2 separate regions of the Homo sapiens genome follow, and region 1 is linked to region 2. The links are contacts of gene promoters, found by promoter capture Hi-C in human tissues and cell types (Jung and others, 2019). All regions are on one chromosome and are shown on one strand. Each heading gives the region's core, a stretch centred on a gene start or on the middle of the fragment in contact. The rest is flanking DNA. Distances are from core to core; before and after follow the strand shown. Region 1 overlaps GRIK2 (glutamate ionotropic receptor kainate type subunit 2). Region 2 holds the start of GRIK2 (glutamate ionotropic receptor kainate type subunit 2).

Region 1 (4,568 bases), core at 14-2,513, 400 kb before region 2:
GTTGAAGTAGGACATGTATGAAGACAGGCTTTATTTCCTTTTTGTCACTATCTCTGATTCTTACTCTGTCTCACTTATACACACACACACACACACACACACACACAATGAGTACATTGCTAACATTTTTAATGGTCACATAAATTACATATTCTATATAAAAGTAAGTAAACAGTTTCCTTTTATAGGAAGAAACCAAGATTTTAAGGGAGACTTACTTAAAACCTTAAATTCTTTCATTGTTTTAATCTTTTAGCTTTAAAAAGATATAAACCCTGATCTTTTTCTTCAACTTAAATTTTCAAAAGTTTCAATCTCAGAAATGATGGTAGTTTTGAATCTCAATAGCTGTATTACCCGCTTTTCAAGAAACTAAGCTTAATCTCTTGTACGGTTTCCTTTCCCCAAGATTTCCATATGAATAAAAGTTCATTTGGCTTCTCAGGTAAAACAAATATGAATTCTACTGTGTTTGCACCTGCTCAAATGACCAACCACTTTGGAGGTTGATGATAAAAAAATAAAATGTTTATAAGTCATAACAAAACAGAGGCTCAGTGATTTTCAAGTGCTGTGTTAAATGGACCCTCACTCTGTGTTTGACAGATCGATGCCAGGCTTACTACCTAGAAAAGACAGCCACACTGACAATGCTCCTAGTAATGAACTTTGGCCATCTGCTTGGCATGCTTTAGAATAAAAGCATATATTTCCTCTTCTCATTCACACAATTAGTGAGCTGTGAAATGAATAGGAACCCTGTAGATTACAGCATTTGCCACAATACAATACAAAATGAGTATACACAGTAGCTTTCAACCAAATGGATCCTAAGGAGCTATACCACATAAAATGGAAGATGGCTAAAGAGCACAATGCAATAAGAGAACATAATAATATTATTTTATAGTTCATAAATCTCTTGGGAAAATAACTCAGATTCCAAACCTTCATTTTATAAATTCTACTGACTATTTTCACATACCCTGAAGGATGCATAGTGAAAACTAGTAGTGTTCATTGAGGCATACATCCTGAGCCTGAGGATTTGACTGATATTTGTCTCTGACCCGAGTTAATATTCAGAGGACATATTACATATATTACACAGGTAGTCACAAAAATCATCAACAGAATTGGGAAGATACATTTTGAGCGTTTTAAAATATATAACTGTCAACAGAAAGGGTAATTTTGCAGCACAAAACGTAAGAGAGCCTTAAAAATATTTATGTTTATTTTAACCCAGTAATTCCTCTTTCTGGAATTAGCATTAAGAAAATCGGAGCTAAGAATGAAGGCTACATATCCATTGTTTTGTTTTTAGAAAAAAAAAAAAAAAGAGTGGAAATCTACTGAATGACCAAAATAGGGAAATTTCTAAATAAATTCACGATGTTTTCTTATATAAGCACTAAAAAATCATGTTTTGAAAAATACTCAACTAGATGGAAATTAAATACATCTTAAATGGTGTTGTGTTAAATTAGATTTAGATTATACAGAACTGCATTTCCAGCATAAATCATTTTATATATATAAATGTATAAATAATGGTTTTATATATAATATATAATGGTTTCATATATTATATATAGTATGTAATATATAATATATAATATATAAAACCATTATTAATATATAACCATTATTTTATATATAATATAAACTATTATATGTAATATATACATAAAAAAAATATATAATGGTTTATTATGGAAATACAGCATAATATATATTTACTTTATAAATATATGTACAGATAATATATATTTATAGAGTAATATGAAGTATTACCTTATAAAGCAATATATATTTATAAATTAAATAGAATATCTAAAATACACATGCATGTATACTTATATATGGGTAATTAATATATTTACTTTATTCTCTGAATAATAGTATAATAAAAAATCTATTGTTAACATTTTATAAATAACAAAACCAAGGTTGGGAAAAGTGAAGAACTAATTGAAATCACACAGCTAACAAGTGGGGAAGCCCACCCTCCCTGTTCAGGAATGCTTTTGGCCACCACTACATACTATATAAACAACAAAAACAAGAAAACACAATAAAATAATAATGTTTAACTCTTGTGAATTAATCATGAGTAAAATTTTTATTTCATATTTTCCACAGTTTTTAAGATTAACACGTAATGTATGAGGAAGATTACAAAAACTATAGCAGTTATTGCCAAGATAAAAATGTTGATCTATTATGGAAAAAATAACTAAAAGAATACAATCTATAATATTTCTAATTCCAAGTTTTCATGAAAATTGCTTTTCATGACTTACTGACATATAGATAATCTAACAGGACATACATAAAAATCCTAGAGTAGTAACCTTATTTAATATGACAATGCTAGAAAATAATTTTGCCTAATTAAAAATCAAAAAATCTTTTCTGGTATATAGTTTCAGTTTCAAGATCAGGACACAGTAGTTGCTAATAAAACTCTTTGAAATCTGTTATTTTAAGTACAATTATAAAAATTAGATAATATTATTAAACTATAAGATAAATATAGCTGGGCACAGTGGCACACATCTGTAGCCCAGCTACTTGGAAGGGTAAGGTAAGAGGATCACTTGAGCCCTGAAGTTTGAGCCCAGTCTGGGCAAAATGGTGAGACTACTGTCTGTAACAATAAAATATAAATCCTTGAGAAAAAGGTACAAGTAATCTAAAAGTCGCTGATCAAACTACTTCTGGATTTCCCAGTTTAAAATATCTTTACTTATAAATCAATAAACAGAACTTCTGAAATACTTTCTATGATATTTTCTCCAGTTTGGGGTACTTTTTGGTTTTAATTTTAGACTAGTTGTTTTGGTGATATTATGTAGATTTTTCTATTTATATTTAATATCTTGTCAGATTAAACTATTGTCTTCTTTGTAAAATTGTGTGTCTATAAATCTCCTTCCTTTGAAAAACCGTGTGAAAATTCTAGTGCTTCAGAAATGTGGTTTCTCTTATTCTCACAAGAATGCTCACAAAAATGTGCCTTCTCTTATTCTCACAAATATGTGAAAATCTGTCTTCTATTAATAATATTAATAGCCAACATTCATTCAATATCTGTGTGTGAGGCACTCTCCTTAAATTAATTCCTTTAATTTCCATAACCATTATTCAGGTGCAATCCCATCAAGTATGTGTCAAATAGGAAACCAAGGCAGACAGCAGCTAAGTAACTCAAAAAACAAACCATAGCATATAGACGTAGAGCTGGATTTAATCCATATAATCTGTCCAAAGTTTATATCCTTTTCTCTGGGTTTCTCACTCAACACTCTATGGTTAATAAGCAAAGTAGTGAAGGTGGTTTTGTAGTTACACAATGTAACAAATGTCAACAAGCACTTGAATGCATAAATCTCTATATAATTTTTTCATAAATACATAATGAAAATGCACTGCAAAATAAGAAAAGGTAGAGATTATAGAAAACTGGTAAATGCATATTTGTAAAAAAGAAATACATTGTTATACCTGGGGCATGGAGATTGCCCTGTCCTATTCACCACAGCCTATTCCCATGCACCCATCAGGGGACACTAAGGGCAGGCCCACACCCCTGGCACTATCCCCCAAGTACCCAAGCATGCCACCCAGGGACCTGAGAACAGCCCTGCCTTGTTCACCACTGCTGGTGTCCGTGCACTTCTCCTGAGGGCTGGTCCATCCAGCCTGTTGCAGGCACTGCAAACACCAGTATGTGATGCCTGAGAGTCCAAGGGTGGTCCCACCATCACTACTGCTATTTCTCATGCCATGCATACTGCTTAGGGGCCCAGGAATTCACCACACACATGCCCACTGCTGCCACTACTGAACCGAAGCAAGCTTCCTGGAGGCCCAACAATTGGCCCACCTGAGCCCACTAACACACGTGCCCTTGTATGCCACACAGGAGCCTAAAGACAGGCACACTTAGCCCACTGATAACACCACTGGGCCTCAGGACTGAACTACCTGGCACTCCTACACCCAGTAAAATTTCAACACAGTCTCCACTAATAATCACAGTCTAAGAAACGGAAATCACAGACACCACTGATGCTGTAAAAATCATATGAGGACTATGCTACTGCTAACCCTATAATCAAAGCGAAAGTGCCCCCTCAACCAATACCATAGATAAATCCATAGGAAAAATTTTCCCTTATGAAAATCCATCCAAAAAAATTGAAAAAAGCTGGCCGGGTATGGTGGCTCACATCTGTAATTCCAACACTTTGGGAGGCCGAGGTGGATGGATCACCTGAAGTCAGGAGTTTGAGGCCAGCCTAAACAACATGATGAAACCTGGTCTCTACTAAAAATACAAAAGTTAGTGGGTCATGGTAGCTGTGGGCCTGTAATTCCAGCTACTTGTGAGGCTAAGGCAGGAGAATGGCTTGAACCCGGGAGGCAGAAGTTGCAGTCAGCCAAGATGGCGCCACTGCATTCCAGACTGGGTGACAAAGTGAGACTCCGTCTCAAAAAAAAAAAAAAAAATTGAAACAAGCAACTATTACACAAAATGTGTAGATATCAACATAAGGACA
Region 2 (4,419 bases), core at 822-3,321:
ATAGAAGGCTGACACAAATATCAAACCTATGATAAATTGACAAAGAAGAAAATGCATATCATGTTAATGCAAAGCTTCTTCCAACAATAACAAAAAAACCCACTAGCTTCATCTTTCACTATATTTTTATATTTGCAGATACTAATGACCTCTTATTCTTGGGCACTATTACTTGAGAAACAATTTTAGTTTCCTATTCTGCCAGTGAAAATGAATCTTATTCTAGTTAGCTGCCACCTGCTGGGGTATGAGAAAATGTGTAATAATCTTTATAGCACAACATTTAAAAAGACAATGCCTATACCTTTTGCTGGAAACAGCAAATACATACCCCAGAACAACCTGAATTTCAAAGATGTTTCAAAGGTTCTTACATGCCATAGCTATATTTAAATTTTTCACATGGAATTCTTACTAAGGATTCCACTTGACTTGTCACGGAAGTCCTGCTGTTATGTGACATTTGAAAAACCTCATCTTATAGTAACACCTAACCTATTATTCCATGCAAGTGGCCTGTTGCATAGCAATTTAGCTAAAACAAACAGCCTGTTTATACATGGCATTAAAGATCTCAGAGAATAAAGTCAGGACTGAGTCAGGTTTCAGTTGAAATCACACTGTTGCATACTTGCAACTCACTCTTCTTAACTATGCATGCTGTGGTATCCCTTATGATTCTGAACACATTATCAGCTGTTCCAGCAACATTCTGCTGCATTGATGATTAATGACATTTAGAGTTTTGATTAATTTTTAGACACTAAAATAAGTGTATCTTAATTAACAAATTGAAGTGGAATAAATTTACATATCCCAGAACTTTTTTTTTTAAATTTCAGCCTGTGTGATTTTCAATGGGTTTAAATAGGAGAAAACAAACAGATAAGACTTCCAAACATTGCTCAATTCTCTATCACCTTGCTCTTGTGCATTTCAATTTTTTGTTGTTTGTTTGACTCAAAAGTTTTTAAGGCCACTGGAAGTTGATAGGCTGCCTTGGTGGTTACAGGAATAGACTCTATAAAGTTAGAAAGTAATGAACTAAGACAAATCAAGATTGAAATACAATTGCATTTATTTCAGTAACTAAACTGACTAATTAAGACTCAAATGAACCAATCATCTCTCGTGAAATGAAAATAATCATCAATCCATAAGATAATTTCTGATGACAGAATACTTACAGTATGGAGATGAATAAACGATAGAAGATAATCTGTGCATTACCAAAAGGCTACTAATAGTAAGTTTTCTAATATTCCCCATTGCCTAAATTGGAAATTATTCTCTAAGGAGCCTCAGCTCGGTCGTGTTGTTTGGTAAAGAAACTCTATCTCCTTAAAGGTAAAAATATCAGAGGATGTGGTTCGTTAAAAGTTCTTGAGGTTTATGATCCACCCTGGTAACACTGCCCACTCCTTACCCTAATGGGACGCCCTCCAAGTTTTTTCAGAAGCTCTTAATACGGGTGCCGGTTAAAATAAATATACTTCCTCAGCGCAGAACTAAGGAGTAGGGTTAATGGAAGGATGGGTGGGCAGAAGGAGGGATGGGGAGTTCGTCAGACCCGCCGGCAGCCACACAGCTTCTTGCCATCTGTCTCATTCTCTTCGCCTCGCGTGAGTCCCCGTAGCTGAGGCCACTTCCTGACACGTCCACTTCTTAAATCATTTTATGTGGAGAACATAGGCGACTGCAGCCAACAGAGCCACTTGCATGCTTGACGGGAATTGGCTGAGATAAGCCCGACAAAGACTCGCAGTGAATCCGTCCAGCGGGCGCCCCGAGCGCACGGACGTCCGCAGCGCTACTGTTCGCCTTCTTCCTTCTCTCCAGGTGGAAAATGCCCCTCGCCCACCCGCAGTCCCTCCCGTCCTCTTGAAAACAAACACCTCGTGAAGGAGCCCGGAGTGCAGCCCACAGCCGGGGAGTCCTTACCTGGAGCTAGGGGTGAGGTGGGCGGGGAGGGGGTGGGGTGGTCCTCGGGGAGGAGCAGCCGGAGGAGGTCGGGCGGAAAAGTCCCCAGCTACCAGACCGACCAGCGCAGCCGCCGGCGCCGAGCGCGAGTGACGGCAGCGGCGAAGACGGTGACCGAGGAGCAGCAGCGGCGGCGGCGGCGGCAGAGACAGACACGCCTCCTGGCGGGGGTTCCTCGCCTCTTGCTTTAAAGGCGCCGCGCTCCTTTCCCCGTGGCCCCTGCACGCTCCTGGCCGCCGCGGCCACTCGGGGGCATCTCCCACCCCTGGACCACAGGAGCTAGAGCGAGAGAATTCCTGGTGTCCCTAGACTTGGATGTTACGAAGCCTCCGGCTGGACTTCGCTCCCTTAGCGCACACCCGCCTCCTGGGATGGGGAGACTAAGGCCAAGATGCTCTGTCAGGGAGTGAGTGATGCATGCAAAGCGCCGAGGAATTTGCCTAGCCTTGGGTGGTGACAACACATATAAGGAGCCCAAACACATTTGCTTCTGGGTGATGGCTTTTATGCCTCTCCGAAACCATAGCAACGAAACTTCTCCACTGCCAGGGCTTGGAGGGCTGCTGGTAGTCTCCAAAGTGGACCTCTTAGTCCAACTACGGTCATTTCCCTGAGGTTCGCAAAAAAAGATCTTGATCTGCGCACCCTCCCACCCCGACCTCCAGCGCATAGAGCAAATGCGCTCTGGTAGCGCTGCTGCGGGTATTCCCTCAGATGCTGGGAGTCACAGTGCCCTGCTCCCTGCCACCATTATTGAGAACAGATGCTTGGAAATTGACTTTTCCTGAGTGTTAGGAGGTCGGGCGGGCTGTCTCTGTGTATGTATGGCGCCTTAAATAGCAGACTCCCCTCTCCCCACCAAACTCCCGCCCAGGCCCCGGAACTCTCAACCTAAACACATTTCAGAAAGAAGTTGGATTCGAGATCTAGTGGGCGCCGAACCTGAGGTCGCAGACTCCAAGATTGGAGACAGGAGTCTGGGAAGCAGCCCTGGTTTGGCGGCCACTGGTCCAAGTTCTCGGGAGGACTCTTTTAAAGGCCAGAGATGGGGAGGGGCAACTGAGTCCCAGAGTCTTCCCGCAGCTTGGCTTCCAGGGAGGGGCTGGCGGCGGTGAGCGCACCAGGCTCTCCCTGCTTCACTGTGGAAACGATTAGCTTTTGCAAACAATCCCTGAGTTCCGCTCCTCTGGGTCGGAAAAGTCAACATCTATTCAAAACCGTTGCTATTTTATCCTCAGCCCTACAATATTAACTGGAGCTGAGTTTAGCAGTTTCCCCCAGAGGAAGTTGGCCAGCTCAGATTCGCGAGGAGATTTAAGTGAGGCTAAGCGGGAACAGGCCAGGCGCACTGGGCTCAAGAGACCATTTCAAACGGGCTGCATAAAGAAGGGGCCAGGGGGGATTCCACGGCTCTGCAGTCCCCTAGCAGTTCCAGTCCCTGGTGGTTCTCCACTATCTATCTAATTCCGAGGTCCGGGAATTAGAGAGGCTCTGAGTCCCCAGGGACCCGTTGTCTGAGCTGGAGACCAGAACTTGCCCTTTTGCTTCCTCCTTCACTGCAGCCCTAGTAAAGTTAAGCCCTCGCCGGACCCTGGCGCAGCAGGGCCATGTTCCACACCCTGAGGCTAGCGCCTGGCTCAGAATAGCTCTGAAACACAGAAATTCAGTCCTGCCAAAACCGCCAGTCTTTCCCTCTTGGTCACCATCCAGGACTCTCTGCGCCCCGTTCCCCACAACATGCTTACTGAGCATTCCTGGGTGGGGCAGGGTTGGGGGGAGGGGGACTGGGGACTTATGTTAAGGAGAGATGAGTTAGTGGCAATGGAGAGTCCATTAGTCATTTGAAGATCCCAGGGGTGGCTGGGCGGCTCCCTTAATTAAGTCAACAGCAGCCTTGTTCTACCCAGTAAATAAATAGTCAATGACTCTATTGTGCATCCTGGAGCGGGCAGCACAGACGCGTGACCGGTTCTGGGCGCCTGGGCTCCAGCTGCTGTGACCTGCAGCCTAATGGGCCCTCGAGGCACAGCCGAGTTTGGGCCAGGCTCCGAAAAAATGCCCCATTCTGTCCCATTCCTCCATGGGAGTAAGGAAGATAACTTGTCTACTGGCTAAAGACTCTCTCCTTGTCATGATTACATCCACCCACTTCCAGGCAGAAAGGAGCAAAACACCAGCACGAGCAGATTCCAGTGGAAATCCCTGAGTGAAGGCACCCAGCTCTTGTGACAACTCTGAGAGTGTAGAACAGAGTGTGTCTAATTTGACATTAAGTGTTTAGCATAGAGTCTGGCATGCAGTAGGTGCTGGATAAAGAATGGTACTGGGATAGACCTTCCGCTTTCCACACTGTTGCCCCCAGACCCACATTGTACTTGGGAAAGGAGAGGCTTACTAACAACTTCCTGTTAGTGCTGTGTATGATTTGAGAGCCTTGTC

What was found. The method cuts DNA at HindIII sites, captures the fragments that hold promoters and counts their contacts. A contact is called where the count stands out against the background at its distance.
Region 1: a fragment that was not itself captured here is called in contact with the fragment with the promoter of GRIK2 in region 2 in 2 of the 25 tissues and cell types used here (dorsolateral prefrontal cortex and mesendoderm cells).

What each region holds. Positions count from the first base shown.
Region 1 is chr6:101,794,817-101,799,384 of GRCh38, reverse strand. All of the region lies in intron 7 of GRIK2 (glutamate ionotropic receptor kainate type subunit 2), which reads right to left. Among named protein-coding and RNA genes, the nearest start is that of GRIK2, 400 kb to the right of the region's middle. The HindIII fragment of the contact is 6,851 bases long and covers 1-4,568 here.
Region 2 is chr6:101,391,360-101,395,778 of GRCh38, reverse strand. GRIK2 (glutamate ionotropic receptor kainate type subunit 2) reads right to left here and starts at 2,071. Exons shown (of 17, transcript NM_021956.5): 1 at 1,942-2,071. The HindIII fragment of the contact is 9,322 bases long and covers 1-2,415 here.